6 separate regions of the Homo sapiens genome follow, and all the other regions are linked to region 2. The links are contacts of gene promoters, found by promoter capture Hi-C in blood cells and fetal thymus (Javierre and others, 2016). All regions are on one chromosome and are shown on one strand. Each heading gives the region's core, a stretch centred on a gene start or on the middle of the fragment in contact. The rest is flanking DNA. Distances are from core to core; before and after follow the strand shown. Region 1 has its middle 15 kb from the start of LYZ. Region 2 holds the start of LLPH (LLP homolog, long-term synaptic facilitation factor). Region 3 holds the start of MIRLET7IHG (MIRLET7I host gene). Region 4 has its middle 3.1 kb from the start of MIR3913-2. Region 5 holds the start of MON2 (MON2 regulator of endosome-to-Golgi trafficking). Region 6 holds the start of RAB3IP (RAB3A interacting protein).

Region 1 (3,599 bases), core at 175-2,674, 3.2 Mb after region 2:
TTGCTCTTTTTAGGCTCTTCTGCGTGTAACAGAGCTAAGGCTGCTCTAATTAAAGCCTATAACGTTAAAGCTGTTACTGGGACCTGTTGCCTTTGCACATGTTAAGATTTCTCCCCATTTGTTCCCAGAGTTCTACGTCTAGCGTTCCTTCTTCCGGGAACCACGGGCTTGGGATCACAAGAGTTTGCATTGCAACAGTTTGTCTAGCATGGATGATTAGGTCCCTTAATTGAGCCTGTGAAACTGAGGCTCCGCTAGCCTTAAGTAACTGTTTTAATACTTTCATATAATGTTTCTGCTGTGCTAATAACTGTGGTCCCATGATGAAAACTCAGCTTGACCCAACTTCCCCCAGAACTTGGTAACTTTGAGTGGGCACCAATGACTTGCTGATTACTCACTGACTTGACCGCGCGGTTCCTTTCTTCACCTTTGTTTTCCGGGGGGTCCGTCGCTTTTCCTTCACGCTTCCTTCGCAGCTTTCCTCATGAGGGCAGTCCTCACTCTTCCTAGGCAGCTTGCCTCAGGAGGGGCTCCAACTGCGGGGAGTCTGTTTCTGCAGACCCCTGACTGGCCTCACACGGCTTTCCTCACAGGGCTTTCCTCACACGGGTTTCCTCACACAGGCCACCAGCTGAGGTATTGCTCCTCACACGTGAAGGCATTAGCCGCGGGGTCTGCCCTCAGACCCTGACCCAAACGACAGATGAATAAAACGTACACTGACACACAGATATTCTGTTTTGCCAGTCCAGCTGAGTGTCCAGCCGCCTGCACACCTAGAGAGGTTTGTCACTGTGGACGGCCCTGAGCAGCTCGAACTCCAGGCATTTATTTAGTATACAATTAACAACAGAAGCTTTGAGTAAACTTGAGTAAACACACTTTGAGTAAACTTGAGTAAACACACTTGTGGATAATTAACATGGTTAAGAGAGTAGTTCTAGGAATGATTAAAACTCAGGTACCACGGTCTCAGGTAAATACTATCAGGCCTCTCAGCCCAAGCTAAGCCAGATGGCCTGAAGCAACTGAAGATCCACAAAAGAAGTGAAAATAGCCTTAACTGATGACATTCCACCACAGTGATTTGTTTCTGCCCCACCCTAACTGATCAATGTACTTTGTAATCTCACCAACCCTTAAGAAGGTTCTTTGTAATCTCCCCACCCTTAAGAAGGTTCTTTGTAGTTCTCCCCACCCTTGAGAATGTACTTTGTGAGATCCACCCCCTGCCCACAAAACATTGCTCCTAACTCCACCGCCTATCCCAAAACCTTTAAGAACTAATGATAATCCACCACCCTTTGCTGACTCTCTTCAGACTTAGCCCACCTGCACCCAGGTGAAATAAACAGCCTTGTTACTCACACAAAGCCTGTTTGGTGGTCTCTTCACAGGGACGCGTGTAACAAATACCATTAGGGGGCAATATCCTTGGTAGACCTCCCCAGAGAAGGCCATCTGGCTCAAAGGTTAGTTAATTGAAGTTGGGTAAACAGACTTAACTGGGGAAGCCTCTGTTGTCCCTTGTATTTACCCTATGACCTAATGCTCTAAGGTAAGAACTGGCCGCCTTGGCCTGTTCAATTATTACAAGCTATGTAAACTTTCGGCCTTCTAAAAGGTTTGTGACTATTTCCTATAACTTTCCCTAATATTTCCCTTTATTCTTTCTGCCACCATCCTGAGTGAATCCCAACAGTTTTCTCCCCTTGCAAAATGTACCACGTTCAAAAGTTTGAAGATCACTGTCTTTATTATCATCTTGCCTTTCATTTTGGCCTTCCTTCTCCAAACACGCACACACCCCCACACACACCAAATCACTTTAGTCTGTCCTAGCAAAAAGTGATCTATGGTCCTTTTTGGCACACAAAAAAATACAATTGTGTCATTCCTTTTACTCGGAAGACTTCAGTTTTTACATTGCCTTCAGCAGTGATTATTAACCTATTTTAGGTACTTATACTTTTGAGAATAAATAATAAAGCTTTTTACTTTCTTCTGAGAAAAATATGCAATATAATTTTATATAATTTTGGAGGTTTAGCAACACCTCTGAAGCCTATCCATAGATCTTCTAGGGATCCTTCACCTAACCTATACAATAAAAATGGAATTTCCTTTTAATAGCATAAAAGATTCTTCATTTACCCAGCCAAGCTCTTCACTTCCACTTTCTACTTTGAAAGGAACTTCCACAGCATACCATATTCTTTCTTATACCTTTTTTCCTTTCTTTTCTTTTTTTATTTTATTTTTTATTTTTATTTTTTTTTGAGACAGAGATTCCTTCTGCAACCCAGGCTGGAGTGAGTGCAGTGGCACAATGATGGCGCTACCTCGTGAGCTCAGGTGATCCTCCTACCTCAGCTTCCAGAGTAGCTAGGACTACAGGCATGTAACATCATGCCTGGCCAATTTTTTTTTTAAGAGACAGAATCTCACTATGTTGCCGAGGCAGTGTTTATTTTTAAATAAACTTTTAATTTCAGCATAGTTTGAGATTTACAAAAAAATCCTGAAGATAAGACAGTTCATTTCTGTATTCCCCACACCCACTTTCCCTTATTACTAACATCTTACATCAATAAGGTACCTTTGTTACAATTAATGAACCAATATTGATATGTTATTATTAGCTAAAGTTCATACTCTATTCAGATTTTTTAGTTTTTACCTAATGCCCCTTTTCTGTTACAGGATCCTATCCAGGGTGGCATATAACATTTTGTTGTTGTATCTCTTCTGGCTTCTCTTGGCTGTGACAGTTTCTCAGAATTTCCTTGTTTTGATGAGCTTGGCAGTTTTGAGTACTCATCAGGTATTTTGTAGAATAATCTTCATTTGAGGTTTGTCTGATGTTTTTCTTATGGTGAGACTGGGGTTATATGTTTTGGAGAGAAAGACCACAGAGGCAAATACCATTTTCATCACATCATATCAAGGATGCATACTTATCAATGTGGCTTATCACTGTTGATGTTAACATTGATCTACTGACTGAAGTAGAATTTGTCAGGTTTCTCTCCTGTGAAATTATTCTTTTCCCTCGTTTCCATACTGTATTCTTTGGAAGGAAGTCACTATGCACAGCCTCAATACTTCCTTGAGGGCAGAGTATCTACATAAAGTACTTGAAATTCTCCTGCATGGAAGATTTGTCTATTCTTCCTTTCTTTTATTTTTAAATATGTTTACCTCTACCTGGAATGCTGAAATAACACAATTTCAAAATGTCAGTGGCTTAACACGCATTTTATTCCTTATTCATTCCAAAATGCCTATCACAGTTTAGCAAGTGGCTCTGCTCCACATAGTCACTCAGACGCTCAGGCTGCCGGAGGTTCCACCATCAGGTAGCTAGCTACACTTTCTGAAACATACAACTTCATCAGTTGCCAAGGAAAAGTAAGAGCACTGGAGTGTTTTGCACCAGCAGTTAAATGTTTCAGCTTAGAAATGACATTTCTACCCATAGCTCATTGCCTAGACTTAGCTACATCACTCCGCCTAACTCTACAAGGGGACAGGGAAGTATAATCCTCCTCTGTGCCTGGAAGGAGAGGGAACTAGATATGGGTGAGTATTGGAAG
Region 2 (3,652 bases), core at 579-3,078:
ATTTTCTCTTGGCAATGTTTGGGTTTGGGTACCACCACAGTTGCTATCTCTTGAACATCTTTCATTAAAACATCACCGTCTAGTTTGAGAATACTTTTAAGCCTGCTGGCCTCCTTTGGGGCATTCTTTTTTCTCTTTTCAGCACGCATCTTTCTTTTCCACTTACTCCGTAAGCTTTTAGCCATGTTTTACCTGAAGTTAACAAAAACACACATTCAAAAGCAAATCTTTAATATAAAAAAGAAAACAGGCAAATCCTTAGAAAACCAGGCCAACAGGTATCTCTACAAAACAAGTGAAAAGTAAAACTCTTCAATCTGTTCACTTTTTAGGACTTAACATGCAACTTATATGAAGATCAACATGGTACATACACAGTCACTAAATAACAAGATATCAAATCAAACTTGTGGTCATAAGCAAACTACAAATCAAACCAATTCTGAAAGCACCTTGCATGTCTTTTTTCTTTTTTTTTTTTTGAGACAGAGTCTTGTTCTGTGTCCCAGGCTGGAGTGCAGTGGCGCGATCTCAGCTCACTGCAACCTCCACCTCTCAGGTTCACGCCATTCTCCTGCCTCAGCCTCCCGAGCAGCTGGGACTACAGGCGCCCGCCACCACGCCTGGCTAATTTTTTGTATTTTTAGTAGAGACGGGTTTTCACCGTGTTAGCCAGGATAGTCTCGATCTCCTGACATTGTGATCCGCCCGCCTCGGCCTCCCAAAGTGCTGGGATTACAGGCTTGAGCCACCGCGCCCGGCTGAATTTCTTTACAAAATACAGAAATTTAATTTCCCCAGAATGCAACAGCGTCATCACCTTACATTTATGCAACAGCTTACAAATTACAAATGATTTTTATAAACACTTCACCTCATCTTCATTATCCATCCTCTCAAGCCAACTTAACGACTGTAAACTTATCTATTCCTACTCTTGTTTTCTTTCCACTCAGTTCCGCCCTAAATCCTCCACAAGGTGCTCAGTGTGATCTTTTAAAAAAGCATTCACTGCCTTTCTTCGAGTTCTTTAAAGACCTCCTCCCTCATATATATTCAAGATCTACAAGGTCATTTGTGATCTGTCCCCTGCCTCCTTCAACTCTATTTCATTTCATTCTCCATCCCCATCCCCGCAGGCACCAACTACGTCTGTAAAGAGTCCAAACTATCTCTACGTCAGTGCCTTCATATTTGCTGTCCCTATGCCTGGCAACTGCTCTTCTCAAGGCTTGCTCCTTCATTCGCTACCTCAGAAAGGACTCCTCTGACCTCCGTAAGCTCCCTTCCCTGCTTATTAAGTGTTACAACCTGAAACCATTGTTTTCTGTCACGCCCCCCGACCCTCTCCCCAGACTGTAGACTCCACGAAGGTAGAGGGAAAGGTCTTGTTCACTGCTGAATCGCACACTTTTTGCATACTTGTTGAACGAACCACTAACATTTTTTGAACGCCGGCAATCACAGTCATTCCGCTCCCTTGTCTACATAACTCAACCCTTGCGAGGGGCTAGGAAAGCGGGCGGCAAACAACCTTGAGGGCCGAAGTTAACTTCAGCGGGAGTGAACGACAGGGGTGGGCTCCACTTTATCCAGTGCACTCGGAAGCCGGAGGGCCCCCACCAAAAAGAGCAAGGGGAACCCTCGCCCTCAACAAGGCCTGCATCTCCGGACTGGAGCTCAAGTATAGCCCAGCGAGTGTCAAGAAACGAAATTCTCCAAGGGTGGCGGAATCAAGCCCCAAGTCCCATGTGTCACTGGACCGGTGAGGAACCGAACTCACCTGAGAAACGAACACCCACACCTCACGCTCACGCCGACCGGAAGTCTTTGCACTTCCGTCTTCCGGGCGGAGGCCACCCGGGGCGGACGCATTGCACGCCGGGAGACAAAATGTCTCAAGAAGCCTTGAGAGGCGGGATTTTGGAACCCGGGCGCTGACGAGCTTCCGCCATTGGTGTGATCGCGGACCTAGAAACTTGGTCCGTCCCATACAGGTGTAGAAGTCGGATTTGGAGAATGCTGACGGGTGTCCGGTCAAGGTTAGGCCCCAGGTAGGTCCGCTTTCCGGACGTGGGCAGGGTAGCCCCGAGACTAACCTATGGAGTGAACCTGGCCAGGGGACCCTACTTGTCAGATAGGGAGCTCCGAGCCGACCTTTAGATCTGACCTCAGCGTTTACATGATACTCATGTATTTCCTTAGATCAAGTCAGCCTAGATCAGGTGTTCTTCCAGAGGCCGTATTGAGATCATTTTTATTTGCAGCCTGTGCATTTTCTCATCTCGGGTGATGGCCTCACAGATGTACACATATGTAAAACCGTATCAAACTGCACACTTTAAATATGTGCAACTTATTGCATGTCAGTTATACTCAAAGCGGTTACCAAAAACAGAAAACAAGCTTTTCCTACCCCAGAGAAGAATTTAAAGGGTAAAATGATCAAAGGATTTCAGTTCTATCAATGTTTACCTGTCTGATCACTTACGTATCAGACACAATGCTAAGCCTAGGACGATTGTCTTAGCTCACGAATAACACTTACTGTACAACTATTTCTACTGGCATAGGCTTTGGAACCATATAGGTCTGTGTTGTACTCTTGCTTCCAACACTTGTGAACGATATGGGTGAGTAATTAATGTCATAAGGGCCTGAATTTCCTTGTCCCTAAAGTGAACATAATACAACCTAATTGATGCTGTAAGAGTTCAACAAATGGTACCCTTTTTACATTATAGTTTCAAAAGTATAGCTACACAGTACTATTTGTAAGCAATGTTTCTAGAGATTTACGACATATACCCAAAAAACATGTCTTTAATGATGGCCTGGTAAACTCCTGCTGGTTGCCAGAAAAAGGGGTTCTGAGGCAATCTATGGGTACCTTTTTTCTTTAAATTTGTGTCCTTTATGAAACCATGCATAGTATGGAAATTACTGAATTCAGAATATAGCAAGGTTAAAGAGGCTGAAAAAAACCTAGAACATTTGATATAAAAAAAGGAAGCATGCCTAAGAAACCTGGTTTATTTAAATGAGATTTCGTTCTTATAAAGCAAGTGAATTTCTGTTTTACAAGTTAACCATATACTGTACCTCATCTTTCAAATGAGAAGTTAGCTACCTCACCCAAAAATATAAGTGCACATTGCATTTTAGAGAAAACTTATATTCTGATAGTCCATATTTACTGTATCTTGTTTAACATACCAGGACAAGACTTTTGAATAGGCACTTGGCACCAGAAAAAATAATTTACCTATTATGAAAATGTCATGTTGTTAAAATACCATGCCATGATTTAGCATTACAAGTGCTTTAAACAGCTGAGTAAAACACCCTTTTACTCCTTTTTACTTATGTCCCCTCACCAGTTATATAAAAGCAGTTCTAGAAAAGTGGCCTTAGTATATTTAAAAGTCTAATTCATTCCTTCATTCATGCCTTTGAATATGCACTCTATTATAGGCACTATGCTGAATTTGCAAAGATGAAGGAAACTAAACTACTGTTTTTGGGAAACTTTATCTCCTAATGGACAAACAAGGCTTAAGGGTCCAACTAAACATTGCAGTGGCTCATCACAGAGCTGGAAGGAGCCTATATATAGAACTAGAGGCACAGTGGGTGGCCCTGAATACCTTAC
Region 3 (3,744 bases), core at 301-2,800, 3.5 Mb before region 2:
TTAGCACTGTTAAAAACATTATGGAAAGGAATGTAAGTGATAAAGTAGTATAATGACTAAATTTAGTTGGAAACTACTGCTGTAACAAATCTGTATACCATAGACCAAACAGGTGTTTAGTGGCCATTTAAAAATCTGTGCCATTATGGCAAAGGACATTTGCTTTGGTACAGAATAATCTGATCCACTGCGCAGTCAATGAGCAGTGAGGGTTGATTCCCATGGCAGTCCAATCTTTGCTTATCAAGGAAGGATGGTGTGAAGTTTCTACAGACTTTCTGGTAAGTGATTGATAGATGAGTTTATGGTGTGATTGAGTTTTTGCTTTGAGTTTATGCTTAGTGATTGATAGGTGAGTTTATGCTTTGTCAGGTAAAGCATTTAACTGCAAATGTATTATGTTTACACAAATATTCTTAATTGGAAATAGTTTCTGAATATGCACCTAAAAATGTTCTTATGAAATATGTCAGGCAGGCTGATTTTTAACTTGAAAACTTCTACTTTAAGAAATTGTTTGGGTCCCATCGCCTATACCATGTAGAATAGAAACAAAAAGCCAGTTATTTAATTTTTAATTTGCAATTAAACTCTTGGCCAAGAGGATCTGTTGTCCAAAATTACATCGTGATAGCTTAAGAAAAAAAAAATCTTACTTTGCCAGAAAGGGAATTATACAAGGATATCTTTATGAGTTGCTGCCAAATTTTGTTCTAGACCACGGCCCTCTGGCCTCCATGAAGGATCAAAGTCTGGGCAAAGACAATTCTAAGTTGTAGGTAAACATGCTTTTCATTTCCCTCCATTCCTTACTTTTGTCATAAGCAGTCTGGATTTTCAGGGGTAAAGGCTGATAGGGTTGCCAGATACAGTCATTAAAAATTGAGAATGTGCAGTTAAATTGGAATATCAGATAAACAATTTTAAAAATATATGTAACACACATATGCCAAAACACTGGTTATCTGAAATTCCAATTTAACTGGGCGTCCTGTATTTTATCTGACAAGCCCTAACTACTTCTTTAAAATAATTTGTTAACTTCCTACAAAAAATCTCTAAATGGGAGGAAAAAAAAAATCCCGTAAGTTGTCTGGGCCAAAAGCAGAAGTGGCTCCATGGCAGTCAGCCTTCTCCCTAACTTGGCTTAAAAAGAAAAAGCCAAAACCAGAAGTCCCAAAAGCTTGCGTTTAAAGCGGGCTGTGCCGCAGCTTTCCCGCCTGTTTTCTGCGGAATGTAGCACGGCAGCCACCCCGCGTGGGTGGGGCTCGTATGGTTGTGTCCTTGCTGGTTGGGAAAGGAGGTGCCGGAAACTTCAAACCACGGCCAGGGTACAACGTGTCCGCTTAGGCGGCGATATGCGCCGCCATCTTCTTTGCGGGCAAAGGCCGAAAAAAGTTTGGGACTCCACTCCCCCCCGCTGAGCCGATGGAGGGCATCGCCCGCTGCCTCAGCACTCTGGTGACGTGGAATCGGGGTCCCCTCTTTCAGGGCTGATTTCTGGTAGCACGCTGACGCCTGCCAAGGCAGGGAAAGGGGACGCCGCCTCTGTCCCGGATGTAAGATGGCGGCGCGGGGGGCGGCCTGGCGGGGCGGTCACGTGGTGAGGAGTAGCGCGCGAGCCTCCTTAAGTGATCTCTAAGGTTCGTCCGGACGCACAGGAGCAGCGGAGCGCGAGACGGGTCTTGTGTCCGCACGCGTCGAGTCGTCGCAGTCGCCACCCGGGCCATCGCCGGGCCCGGTTTCACTGTTAAGGGGTTTTCGTTTGTTCCGTTTTCGCCTCCTGTAGAGCTGAACGGGAATTCCCCGAAGGGTGCTGGGGAACGGGTGGCCTGGGGACTTCCCGGCTATGCCTTGGCTGCTGTTTGGCGGAGCCGGCGGCAGCCTCTGCGGGATGCCCGCCGGCGATTATCGGCGCCGAGAGCGGGCCGGCGGCGGGTTCGACAGCGCGGCGCGGGTGGGGGCCCGGGTACCGGACTCGGCCGCAGCCCAGCCCCCACCGGGGACTCGGAGCAGGGAGGGGCGCGAGCGGCGCAGCTCGGGACGTGGCGGCAGCTCCTAGCGGGCGAAGCGCGGGAGCGCTGCTCGCTGCCTCTCGGGGGCAGTCCAGAACCAGTTGGTGTCTGACTGCGCTTTTGCCGCCCATTTCCTGCTTTCGAGCGGCTGAGGCGACGCGCTCCCCTCGGGCAGTGGAGGGAGCGGCTCTCTCCGCAGGACACCGCCGCTTTTCTCTCTTCAGAGCGGTGGCTGACGTACAGAACGCCGGCTGTATCACCCGGGCGCCGGCGCCGCCTCTCATCCCCGTAGCTCTCGGGGCGCGCCGGGAGTAGCCGAGCCGCTGGGTGCTGGGCGGGGTCTCCGGGCGCGGCGCGGGGGGAAGGCAAAGGAAAAGAAGGGGCGGCGGGCCGACGTCGGCGGCGAGGAAGGACGGAGGAGCGCCGGAGCCGCTTTGCTGCCCTCCGCGTGGTCCCGTGCCTCCCCGACACCATGGCCCTGGCTGAGGTAGTAGTTTGTGCTGTTGGTCGGGTTGTGACATTGCCCGCTGTGGAGATAACTGCGCAAGCTACTGCCTTGCTAGTGCTGGTGATGCTCAGCGCCGCGGAGGACAATGGCTGGGAATCCCCTTTGTTTTCCGGGGCGCTGCCTGGGGACAGCCCGCGAAGCCTCGGCGCCCGGCCGGCGCGGCCACCACGGAAACCGTTAGTTTCACATTTTCCTAGAAGGAATTGAGGGGAGTGGGGTGGACCGCGATGCATTTTAAAGGTTGGGAAAGAGCTAAGCCATTGGATTCCTTTTCTTGAAGGAAGGAGTGGAATTGTGTAAGATAATTGATACAGATAACTTTTTCACCCTAAAAAATTCTAACACTTCTTTCAGCAGTTAAATGCCAAATTTAGTGTGTACCTGTTTTACTTCATTCTTTAGCTGTAGGTTGGAGTGGTGTGAGCGATCTGCAGAACTGGCATTAGAGGGGCAGAAGAAGTAGACCTGATAATTAAAGTTTATGCCTTAACATTTTAGATCTGGTTTCTGATATGCTCTCTTAGTAAATCTGAGTGTGTCTTTAAAAACGTAAACCCAAAGCAATTTAAAGTTTCTCTTTAAACTTTGCAACTCGCGAATGAGAAGATTGAAATTATTTGTAGGTAATTGCACTATTCCGATTTTTTAATGTATGAGGCAAACAAATAAATTCTATGTACAGTGTGCTGTGAATGGTTTTGTTTTTTGTTTTTTCTTTTTAGTTTAACCTTGGGGCTCAGATTCTGCTGGTGTGGTGGGTTGGTTTTTTGGTTTTTATGGCCTTTGATTCTAATGTTATGTGGTACTTACATCTTTGAGGTTTTGTATGGGAGAAGAGGACTAGGAATTGAAAGTGGTTTCTAGATTTGAGTTTAAAATCTACTAACACTCATTTTGATTCCTGAGTGGCCACTACTCCTAATAGGAAAATACCTTTGCATAGAGAAAAAAGGTAGTTTGGATAACTAATGAAAATACTCAGTGCTCTAATACCCTGAAGTCTGCGTGGAAAACAAGATACTTGTATTTTTATTTTATTTTCACTGAGGGAAGTAAGTGGTCAGTTTTAGTACTTTTCGTTGAAAACTGATCTGTATTTGTACAGAATAAGTAGTTTTGAATATAATGTAATCGCAGTTTTCTATGGTTTTCTGATGCTCAGTTGAAAAACAAATAAGGCAGTTCTTTAAACCAACCAAACCCTTCAGCAGGAGTTTGATG
Region 4 (3,371 bases), core at 807-3,306, 3.5 Mb after region 2:
TGTTTTTAGCCACTGAGTGACATTGCAAAGCCTTAGTTGAGTACAGGTCAAGATGGAAATTATTTAAACAATGAAGGAGATGGACATGTCCACAAGTGATTGATGTAACTGGCATGATAAAGACACACACAAAGGAAGGGCATCCAACTCAGCCTAGGGGTGGAGGTTTTCAAGCAAAGCTTCTTAGAGGGGGTGATCCCTGAGGTGGTTTGTTGAAAGTCTTTGTAGCTTAGAGAGGATGTCTTAGGGAGAAGGGATAGCATGTGCAAAGGCACAGAGGTATAGAAAGATCATGACATTCAGTGGTTGCAAGAGGTTCCAAATGACTAAGCGCATGGAGAGCAAAGGCAGGGTTGGGGGATACAGAAGAAAGGAGAAATGAGAAACAGATCACAGAATCCTAAGGAGCTTTTGTTTAAATTAGGTGAGAGAACTTGAAGGATTTTAAACACCAGAAAAATAATAGTTTAGAAAGATTTCTCTGACAACATGGATACGTGAAGGGCGCAGTATTTTTTTTTTTTTTTTTTTTTTTTTTTTTGAGACGGAGTCTCTCCCTGTTGCCCAGGCTGGATGGAGTGCAGTGGCGCCATCTCGGCTCACTGCAAGCTCCCCCTCCCAGGTTCATGCCATTCTCCTGGCTCTGCCTCCCAAGTAGCTGGCCCTACGGTATTTTAATAAAGCAGGGAGACTGGTTGAGAGGCTTTTTCAGAAATGGAGCCAGATCTGATAAATCCGTATTCAAAGGCATTGTTAAAGGACTGTTTAGATTGTTTACTGCTGTGCAACAAACCACCCTAAAAGTTAGTGGCTTAAAGCAGCAATCATTTAATGTCTCAAGTTGCTATAGATCGAGATGGGCAGGGCACAGCAGAGATGGCTCATCTCACATGATGTCTGGAGGCCTGGCTTCCTCATATGCTTTGTGCCTATGCTAGTATGATTCAAGCAGCTGAGGGCTGGCTGGACCAGTTCCACTAGGTTATGTCTGGAACTTAAAGCTCTCAGCTGTGTTCCTTAGTTTTCTTCCATGAAGTCTTGGGTCTTTCTTCATGTGGTCTTCTTACATGGCAGCTTAGGGTTCCCAAGAGCACAAAAGTAGATGCTGCTAGGCTTTCTTGAGGCCTAAGCCCAGAACTGGCACAATGTCAATTCTGTTGTATTTTGTTGAATTACAGTGGCTCATATAAAAGCATGAACATCAAAAGTGTAGTTTATTCAGGGCCACCAATGTAATAGAGGGCCTAAAGGAGGAAGAATTAACACCTCTGATTGATAAGGGGAATGACAGAAATGGAGGGGTCAAGGATGACCCCCAGTTATCTGGTTTGGGTGACTGAGATGGTTGATGGTGTCAGTTCATTGAGATTTAAGATATATTTGGGGGCTGGGCATGGTGGCTCATGCCCGTAATCCCAGCACTTTGGGAGGCTGTGGAGGGTGGATCACTTCAGCCCAGAAGTTTGAGACCAGCCTGGGCAACATGGTGAAAACCTGTTTCTATGAAAAAATACAAAAATCAACTGGCGTGGTGGTGTGTGCTTGTAGTCCCAGCTACTCAAGAGACTGAGGCAGGAGGATAGATTAAGCCTGGGAGGTTGAGGCTGCAATGAACTGTGATCCTGCCACTGTGGTCCAGCCTGGGCAACATAATGAGACCCTGTTTTTTTTTTTTTTAAAGTGCTCCTCTAAGTGTGCTCCACAGACTGATTCCTGTGTACAAACTATCACGGTCTGCAACAGGAGAAATATCAAGTCTTCTAACCTTCTCCCTACTACCCAAACAGTAGGTGTCTGGGTGGACCCAACTTAATGTGACTGTGGACTCCTGGTCCTTTATTTGGTTTCCTTCCCCAGGTATTCTAACTGTTCCTGAGGAATGTTGACAAGTCCCATAACTCTGTTCTGGTGGTTGTTTGCCACTTCGCCAGTTATTTCACTCCAGTTAATGAATCTACCCTTGCTCCCAAATCACCTCTAGCCATCAAATAATGATATGCTACAGTGCTTTCCTACTTCCATAACATGCCAAGCATATCCAACCTCGGCTACTATATTTATAAAGCCTATTAGAAGACTTGGGATATAATGATAACAATAGCTAAGCTAAACAGGCACTGTTCTAAGCTATTTAATCTGTGATAATTATCTCCATTTTACACAAAGGGAAATTGAGGCACAGAGAGATTATATAACTGGAAGCTGACCAGTTAACAAAAAGCCAATTCACTGAAAGCCAAATTATACCAAGGGGAAGAGAGAGGAGGACACAGGGTCATAGAGAGGAGAGGGTCACAAAGACTTTGAGGGAGGAGGAAGGGTTAACTAAGAGAAGCCAAGACCAAGGGACTTGAGAGTAGAGGACAGAAGATGAGCCAGGAGAAAGTCACACAACGTGTTTAATCACAGAAACATGGATTCCCAAGGTCTCACTATCTCCATAGGCCCTGTAACCTATCTAATACAAATTACGATAAAATGTATAAATAGATGGGCACAGTGGCTTCTGCCTGTAATTCCAGCACTTTGGGAGGCCAAGGTGGGCAGATCGCATGAATTCAGGAGTTCAAGACCAGCCTGAGAAACATGGCAAAATCCCGTCTCCACCAAAAATACAAAAAATTAGCTGGTGTGGTGGCGCATGCCTGTATTTCCAGCTACTCGGGAGACAGGTCGGAGGATCGCTTGAAGTCAGGAGGCAGAGGTTGCAGTGAGTGGAGATCACACCACTGCACTCCTGCCTGGGTGACAGAGTAAGACCCTGTCTCAATTAAAAAATATATATATAGGTGTGGTGGCTCATGCCTGTAATCCCAGCACTTTGGGAGACTGAGGTGGGCAGATTGCTTGAGGTCAGAAGTTCGAGACCACCCTGGCCAACATGGTTAAACCCTGTCTCTACTAAAAATACAAAAATTAGCCAGCTGTGGTGGTGCATGCCTGTAGTCCCAGCTATTTGGGAGGCTGAGGCAGGAGAATTGCTTGAACCCGGGAGGCGGAGGTTGCAGTGAGTTGAGATCATACCACTGCACTCCAGCCCGAGCGACAGAGTGAAACTCTGTTTCAACAACAACAACAACAACAAAAAAGTATAAACAGCTAAAAGAGACAGTTTTTGGTAAACCAGCACATTGATCACGCTCTGAATGGCCTTCAATGAACTGATTTAAAGAGCCTGTGAAACCCACCCAAGACTACAAAGCTAGTACGTAAAATGGTTGAAATTCAAACTCATATAGTCTGGGTCTAGAAGCTGAGTGTTTAGCCTCTAGGTGTAGAGGTGTCATCAAAGGAGGGGGAAGTAGGAAAGAAGGAAGGGTCAAAAGATGCAATGGAGAAAGGACACATTTCCAAGGGTCCCATCATAGAGT
Region 5 (3,686 bases), core at 216-2,715, 3.7 Mb before region 2:
GAGACAGGAGAATTGCTTGACCCTGGGAGGTGGAGGTTGCAGTGAGTGGAGATCGCGCCACTGCACTCCAGCCTGAGTGACAGAGTGAGACTCCGTCTCCACCCCCCACCCAAAAAAAGCGCCTCGTTTTTACAAGCTCCCTGAGACCTCAAGAATAATGTCTGCCATATATTCCATTTGAACTTTTTTGCTAAATTCACCAGTTTTCATACATAAAGCTTATACCATAGGAGGTGTCAAGTTTCCCAGAAGTTGTGTAATAGGCACAAATGATCAAAATTACTGCCCTAGGAGCTCTCTACTATTACCTCATCTGTCCCCTTTATCCATCCTTGCTTTGCTTCTTATCAGAAGGAAAAATAAAATAAAATTATTTAGCTTACAAAGTAGCTCTGTTACAGCCAAACAGCGCTATCCACTGACAATCTCATGGCTCACTGTCTTCCATCATGTCATAAGCTCAGCTGTCTGAAGGTGTTGGTTTCTTCATCTCTACTGTTTCTGGTTTTTCCTCCCTCATTTTCTGCTTTCTGACCAGCAGCTGCAAAATGTCTTGGGGAAAAAGTAGACCAACCTGGATCTTGGGGAAATACAGATGAAGATTTTTCTGTTTGGCTTTTGCCTCATATTTATTTGGCACTTCAGACCTGATGAAGGCTTTTATGTATCTGTGCCTTATTTGAGCCTCGAAACTCTGATTTTATAATAGAAGGGTATTCATTCAACAAGTATGTACTGATTACCTGCTATATGCCAGACACTGTTCTAGGTGCTGGAGATACACAGGAAACAAAATAAGATTTAAAAAGAGGAAGAACCGGCAGCCCAACTCGCGAAACTCTCCTTTTAGCTGGGAGCATCTGCCAGTAAAGGGGCCGGGACAGATCTCGTAGCGCCTGGTAGGTGATTGGAGGAATTTTGGCTTTTACTTTGAGTGAGATGGGAGGCCAGCGGAATGCGTGGAGCAGAGGGTAGTCTCATTTTAGAGATTAGGAAAATAAGAGGCTACCCCACAGTAAGTGCACCAGTTGCGTTTAAAGAAAAAAAATGTATATTAACAGGAGGTAGCCACTGATTTGGGGCCACTAGTCCAGAGATTCGAAATGAAGCGGGAGGAGACACGTTAAGATTAATCTACAGGGAAACAAATTATTTACACCGAAATACAATTTAACACAAACATACGCAAAGAGATATGCCAAGGAGTACTCGGGGGCTCTGTTCAGGCACTTGTTAATGAAAACGAAGCGAATCTTGACGCCTTAAACCCTGTCTAGCCTACTTGATTCCGGGGGTGGGGCTGTGGGAATCGCTGCCCACCCGGAATCCCGCCTGCCCCGAGCATGGCCAAGCCCCAGCCCCGCCCCGCCGACGGCCTGCCGCCGGGGTTGGCCGCGGCGGTGGCGGAGGCCACGGTACCCGGAAGTGCGGCTGACGTGTCCCGGCAGCGCTCGGAATTGTGGGCGACTCGGCTAATGGCGTCGGCGAGTCTTAGGGGCCTGGGGAGCTGGCGCTGAAGCTTCTTGCCAGGTTGGCTGGTGACACCCGGTGTGGCTGGGCCCCGCGGCAGCGGAGGGACCTGCCCGCCTTGTGGGTTTCTCGGCCAGAGTCGGCGGAGCCTAGCGGGACGGTGCGACTGCGGGGGGCGCCTCCGAGAAAAGCCAGAGGTGTTGCGGGGAAGCTGCTGGGGGACGCTCGAGCAGGCTCCGGGTTCGCAGCCCAGGGCCCAAGAAGCGGGCTGCTGAAGGACCAGAGACACCGGGAGGGAGCTGCCTGTGGCCCTAAGGAGCTGACCGTGCCAGAGCTTGTTTGTACCTCTCGGAAATTGGCTGGGACCTTGGAGGATCATGTCCGGCACCAGCAGCCCCGAGGCGGTGAAGAAGCTGCTGGAGAATATGCAGAGCGACTTGCGCGCCTTGTCACTGGAGTGCAAGAAGAAATTCCCACCTGTCAAAGAGGTAAGCTTCAGGTGACGTCAGGAGAAGGCACTGTGAGCATGCCTGGTCCTGTTAGACTCAGTGCTTCACCCCAGTTTCCAGTCCTAATTTTCATTCAGGCCTCACCTTTCCAGATTTGTGAGTCGGTGGGTTGTTCCACAAGGGCTTTTTATAGTTTCCACTGGAGAGGGCTGAGGCACTTTGATTTTCTCCCCTCTCCTGTCCTCCCAGTTTAGGAGTGAAGTTCATGAAGTGAGCCTATTCAGTTAATCCAGCTAGGTGTACTGTGCACTAGCCTATTCTGGCCTTTTTCTTACTTGAAACTGGCCAAACCAAAATTGAAAAACTTGTTTGTTGCTCCCCGAAACGAGTATCCACCCATCTTGTTGAAACCTGTACTCCTCACGTTTATGGCATATCACTGAATTGGAAACAATTTTCCTTCTGGTATATATCATTCAGCTTAACTCTGTATCAATCCTTTGACGTGTTAATAAACTATCCAGAGCCACCTAATTTATGAAGAATATTGAAGATCCACATAATCATGTTAAACCTTGTTATGAGCAGTACTGTAGTGGGAAGTTGGGCTTGCAGTCAGAGCGAATACACCTGAATTTAGTTCCAGCAATAAATCTTAACCTCTTTGAGCTTCGGGTTTTTTTTTCCAGCTGTAAAATAGGGTTAAAGGATGGTTTTATATTATGTATGGGAAAGATGTCAGAGCAGAAGGGTATTATTAAAGAGATCCCAGTAAATAATACATGGAAATTTAATTCTCCAAATAGTTCTTGAGGTGAAATATTTAACATTTGGTTACTATTTGCTTTTTCTCTTAAAATGCCATTTTAATTCTCTAAAAAAAAAAAACAAACAAAAAAACCCACCAAAAACAGGCCCGGCTAATTTTGTATTTTTAGTAGAAACAGGGTTTCTCCATGTTGGTCAGGCGGGTCTCGAACTCCCGACTTCAGATGATCCCCCTGCCTCGGCCTCCCAAAGTGCTGGGATTACAGGCGTGAGCCACAGCGCCCGGCTGTTTTTATTTTTATTCCTATTTAATGTAGTTTGTTTTACCTGCAATTTCATTTACTCTTTGCCCTAAAAATTCACCGAGGGATTTCATATTTACATACTTATTTAAATATATCTTTATTATTATGAAGATTATGTAATTAGAACTTGACCAATAAATTTTGGATTTTAGGCTTGTAAGGAATATTGACTTTTCTGTAAGTGCATTGGTTTTATCAGTTTTCAACAAACTCCATCTTGTATTTCTTTAATAAAGTATTACCCAGTGATGGAAACCAGATGTGCCACTTTTGGAAAGATGGCTGTTACGATATGTTTTATTTCACATAGTCAATAGTCTGTTTTGATATTGATTTTCATTTTTTTTATATCCTCTGTTGAAAGTTATAACAAGTAAATCTAAAGAATTAGGCTGTTTTAGAGAATTTTAAAGAATTAAGTTGTTTTAATTATAAGAGAAATGCTCTCATTTAGAAAATATCAAACACTATTTTGTAATTTCAACAATAATTTGTAGAACTGACTTCGCAGTTCTAATAATTCATACAAAAACTGTGGTTCCTCTATAGGCTGTTGTGGTCTAGCTTGGGAATTTAATTGCCATTTATTACATTTTTTTGTTTTGTTTTTTGATTTTGGAAATGGGGTCTCTGTGGCCCAGGCTGGAGTGCAGTGGTGCGATCTGCAACCTCGAACTCCCTGGCTCAGGTGATT
Region 6 (3,551 bases), core at 846-3,345, 3.6 Mb after region 2:
ACAGCCCTTTACATACTTTGTAGGCTGAGATTCTGAGTGTCTAATATTCTGTAATGTATCTTGGTCTCTGTGCTGCAAGAACACTGAAGTATTATTATAGGTAACAATCTATATCACTCTTCTCAAACAGCGCTAACAGGTTAAGTATTCAAGAGGAACATCTTTCAGTATATTTCAAAAAGCCTCATGGATGGTAGGTGATTTGTAAATGGACCAACGCAGGACTCAGGCATATATGGTTACTGCTTACTATTTCCTATAGATCATGATGTCTTAGGTCTTATGTAGAATATATCATAGGACTTGTCCTCTAAACATTCACATACCAAGACTGCACTCTGCATGCATGCCATTCACTCATTCTGCATTTACTGAGTCAGTCCTACTGCATGTCAGACCTTGTGCCTGTTCTCAAGAAGCTCGCAGTCCAGGAAAATGGAGAAATACAGATACAATTATAACTCTATGTGATAAGTGTTACAAAGAGATACGGTGTTATGGAAGCCCTGGTAGGGGCACTTAGCCCATACTGGAGTGGCTGGGATAGGGCTGAGTGGCCAACAATAGGGAAGGGTTCACAGTGGAATTGATGTCTAGGCTAAATAATGAATAACAAATAATTAGCAAGGCAAGGAAAAGGTAGGAGATCAAGACATAAAAATAAACAGCATATGGAAATACAGGGTTGTATGTGAGTACGGCAAGACTGGGGAGCCTAAGTGGTTTGCTGTATATTTAATTTATTCATTTCACGTAGCTACTATTGACATACTTGTCTCCCTATATATGTTTGAGTCCGTGGATGGTGGGGACTTTGTAATGGTTTCTCTGTCCCTATGTCTAACAGGAGGCACACAGATGGAGTGCAATAAAATGTCTGATGAATAAATGACCAGCTATGAGGTGTAAGGGAGAATAGGAATCCATTAATGAGAAAGGTCATTTCTAGTGGCAATGAATATCAGATAAGATAGATTTAAGAATTATTTAGAAATTAGGATGAATAAGACTTGGTGATATATTGGCGATGGGGTATAAAATAAGAAACACTGGCTTTCTAGGTTTCTGGATTACAGATGCATGATAATAGTTATAATGGTATAATAACAATAGCTAATATTTATTAGGCACTCTGTGTCATGAAGTACGCAAAGTGTTTACATGAATTAAGCCATTTAAACTCTTAATGACTCAGTGAGGCAGGTTCTGTATACTCATTCACTGATGAGAAAATTGGGGCTAGAGAGATTCATTTGCCTAAGGTCACTCAGCTAGCAGGTGGCAGGCTCAAGCCCAGTAATTCTGACTCCAACAACCATACATATAGTCTACTTTTCTTTACTGCCTCTAATAGATGAGATTAATACCCAGAATGATGGTCCTATTCAATAAGTGTATCACACAAATGCACGTTTCTCTTTTGCTAAACATAGAGACACATACTATGACTACCTCTATTATTATTATTTTTTTTTGATTTTTGGGATCTTGGCTCTTTCTGTATTTTTCCTACCTGGAAGACCTAAAGTGGGGTAGAAGTTTGATAAAACAGTTGGCACAAAAGATGAGAGAAGACAGGTACAGACATGACATTCTCGAACGCTCTGGCAGTTGCTGGAATGATGGGATCTGGGTTCTACAGGATTCCTCCCCTCCCATCTCCCGCCACACACACACACGTCGTAAGGTGTATATGGCCGCGGAGTCTCAGGTTGGTTCTAGGAGTCCTCAACCCACGGCAAAGGTGCCTCTTCTCCCTCCTGGAGAGCCCAACATGCTTGAAGTTAACCTGAGGCCGCCTCTCGGGCCCGGCGAAACAGAGCGCGGGCCCGACGAAACAGAGCGCGGGCCCGACGAAACAGAGCGCAGCTCCGGCTCGCGCTGGTTCCCAGGGAAACCGCCCGCGGAGGAACCTCGGGCCAGGGCCGTGACACCTGCGACGAGCCCCGCCTGGCGCCAGGGGGCGCGGAAGCGCGTCCGCCCCCAGGCCCCATGCCGGGCTCGCCCCGCCCCTGCCGGCCACACCCCCCTACCCCGCCCTCCCTCCGTGAGGACCGGCCGCTCCCGGCTCCCGGCCCCCGGCCCCGCTTCCGGCGCAGGCGCAGTCCCGCGTTCCCTCGGCGGCTGCCGGCGTAGTGAGCCCGCCGCCGTGGAGTGTAGCGGAAAGGGCTCGCCGTCCTCCTCCGTTTCTCGCTGCTTCGGGACGCGCTCTCTGCGGCTCTGTGAGCGCCCCTGAGCGCCGGCAGCGGCCGCGGTGGGTTCTTCAGGTGAGTGCGGCCGCGGGAGGGAGAGGCCCGGAGCGTAGAGCACCGCCCCCCTCGGCGCCCGCGCGCCCGCCTCTGGCGAGTCGGCCAGGAGGGGCGGCCGCGGCAGGTGCAGGTGCTGGCGCCGTGCAGGGCGCGGCACGCGGGGGTTCGGGGGGATGCCCAGGCCCGGTGAGCTCGCTCTCCGCCTGGGCACTTGGGCTCCGGGCCCTTGGGGGCGGCGTGTGGGGGGGACTTTGGCGACCCGGGTCAGCCGGCCGCCCCCTGGGCTGCTGGTGGGCGTCGGGCGGCGGCTCCTCCCCCGGGCACGGGCGCGTTACACATTAACTGCGCGGTCCCGCGCGCCCGGGGCAGGGAGCCCGAGTCCAGCGGGTTACCTGGCGGCGGGCGGGCGCGGCCGGGAGCGGAGGGCCGCGGTCGCGAAGAGGATGAAGAGAGAGTTCCCGAACAAGTCGGAAGCAGCTCACAACACCGGACGCCGCGCGGCAGGGCTGTGGACCTGGGGTGGTTTCGTGTCCCAGTCTTAGGAAACTACGCGCGAGGCACCGTGCTGAGGCGTAGAGGTCACCCTCGGGAGGTTTCGGTGAAACCTGGTGGGAAATTCCGGGCAGGCGCCCGGAGTCGCGCCCAAGTAGGCAGCTCCGTGCCGCCAGACTTGTGTTCGGGGGAGTTGAGACGAACTGCACGGGTGGGATTGCATGGCTCTGCCCTCCCAGCGTTGACAACTCGCCCCGACCGCCCAGGAAGCGCGAGCTTACTGGCTCCAGAAGTGATGATGCTGGGTGGAAGTCGCAGCATGTGAAGAGTTGCCGGTTGTTATGGGATTAAAAAAGATGAAAGGGTAAGGTCTTGAAAGACACGAGCGCTGAGTTAGTTAGTACTGATTACTGAGAGGCAATTTAGTTTCATGGAAATGTTGCCTGTTCGGAGGCTACCTGTTATACACTCTCCTGTTTCACCCCAACTCCTTCCGTTCAGTGTCGGGTTAAAAGCCTTGTAATCTCTTGCAGTGGAATGATTGCATAATTGGAGGAGGGGCCCATAAGAGGATTACAACAAAACTGTTCCATTGTAAATCAGTTGAAAGACCCAGTTCTTGTTCATTATCCTTTTTCTCATTTTGTTGTTCATGAAGGTTTTTTTTTCTTCCAGTGCTGAATGACAAATCAAGGAGAAAAGAGGCAGAATAGGGTTGTAGACCAATCGTAGTAAATATTTGATACTGTTAAATATTTCACCAGTTTTATGGGGCCTTGTTCTGTTATCATTTGTTATTTATTTACTAGT

Evidence for each region. The method cuts DNA at HindIII sites, captures the fragments that hold promoters and counts their contacts. A CHiCAGO score of 5 or more calls a contact.
Region 1: a fragment that was not itself captured here is called in contact with the fragment with the promoter of LLPH in region 2 in 1 of 17 cell types (naive CD8 T cells); the score reaches 10.2 in naive CD8 T cells.
Region 3: a contact is called between the fragment with the promoter of MIRLET7IHG here and the fragment with the promoter of LLPH in region 2, in 6 of 17 cell types (naive CD8 T cells, naive CD4 T cells, non-activated CD4 T cells and 3 more). The highest score is 12.2, in naive CD8 T cells.
Region 4: a fragment that was not itself captured here is called in contact with the fragment with the promoter of LLPH in region 2 in 2 of 17 cell types (activated CD4 T cells and non-activated CD4 T cells); the score reaches 7.3 in activated CD4 T cells.
Region 5: the fragment with the promoter of MON2 here is called in contact with the fragment with the promoter of LLPH in region 2 in 5 of 17 cell types (fetal thymus, naive CD8 T cells, total B cells and 2 more); the score reaches 8.0 in fetal thymus.
Region 6: the fragment with the promoter of RAB3IP here is called in contact with the fragment with the promoter of LLPH in region 2 in 1 of 17 cell types (total CD4 T cells); the score reaches 8.6 in total CD4 T cells.

What each region holds. Positions count from the first base shown.
Region 1 is chr12:69,331,501-69,335,099 of GRCh38, forward strand. No RefSeq gene overlaps it. Among named protein-coding and RNA genes, the nearest start is that of LYZ, 15 kb to the right of the region's middle. RefSeq lists an enhancer at 670-1,384. The HindIII fragment of the contact is 1,134 bases long and covers 858-1,991 here.
Region 2 is chr12:66,128,922-66,132,573 of GRCh38, forward strand. LLPH (LLP homolog, long-term synaptic facilitation factor) reads right to left here and starts at 1,829. Exons shown (of 3, transcript NM_032338.4): 1 at 1,784-1,829; 2 at 1-192. The coding sequence starts at 185. LLPH-DT (LLPH divergent transcript) reads left to right here and starts at 1,830. Exons shown (of 2, transcript NR_125724.1): 1 at 1,830-2,054. RefSeq lists enhancers at 1,553-1,702, 1,743-1,852. The HindIII fragment of the contact is 2,232 bases long and covers 173-2,404 here.
Region 3 is chr12:62,601,193-62,604,936 of GRCh38, forward strand. MIRLET7IHG (MIRLET7I host gene) reads left to right here and starts at 1,551. Exons shown (of 2, transcript NR_186001.1): 1 at 1,551-1,643. It overlaps LINC01465 (long intergenic non-protein coding RNA 1465), which reads right to left and starts at 2,242. Exons shown (of 1, transcript NR_121682.1): 1 at 559-2,242. It overlaps MIRLET7I (microRNA let-7i), which reads left to right and starts at 2,494; the gene lies at 2,494-2,577. RefSeq lists enhancers at 845-1,368, 1,369-1,890, 1,405-1,514, 1,595-1,784, 1,891-2,412 and 1 more and silencers at 1,865-2,174, 2,265-2,564. The HindIII fragment of the contact is 3,704 bases long and covers 1,182-3,744 here.
Region 4 is chr12:69,579,983-69,583,353 of GRCh38, forward strand. No RefSeq gene overlaps it. Among named protein-coding and RNA genes, the nearest start is that of MIR3913-2, 3.1 kb to the right of the region's middle. The HindIII fragment of the contact is 3,759 bases long and covers 178-3,371 here.
Region 5 is chr12:62,465,361-62,469,046 of GRCh38, forward strand. It overlaps MON2 (MON2 regulator of endosome-to-Golgi trafficking), which reads left to right and starts at 1,466. Exons shown (of 35, transcript NM_015026.3): 1 at 1,466-1,958. The coding sequence starts at 1,848. RefSeq lists a silencer at 1,168-1,487 and enhancers at 1,518-1,627, 1,623-2,122. The HindIII fragment of the contact is 1,301 bases long and covers 217-1,517 here.
Region 6 is chr12:69,736,765-69,740,315 of GRCh38, forward strand. It overlaps RAB3IP (RAB3A interacting protein), which reads left to right and starts at 2,096. Exons shown (of 11, transcript NM_022456.5): 1 at 2,096-2,267. It overlaps LOC101928002 (a long non-coding RNA gene), which reads right to left and starts at 1,786. Exons shown (of 4, transcript NR_110072.2): 1 at 1,514-1,786. RefSeq lists a silencer at 1,844-2,673. The HindIII fragment of the contact is 14,222 bases long and covers 1-3,551 here.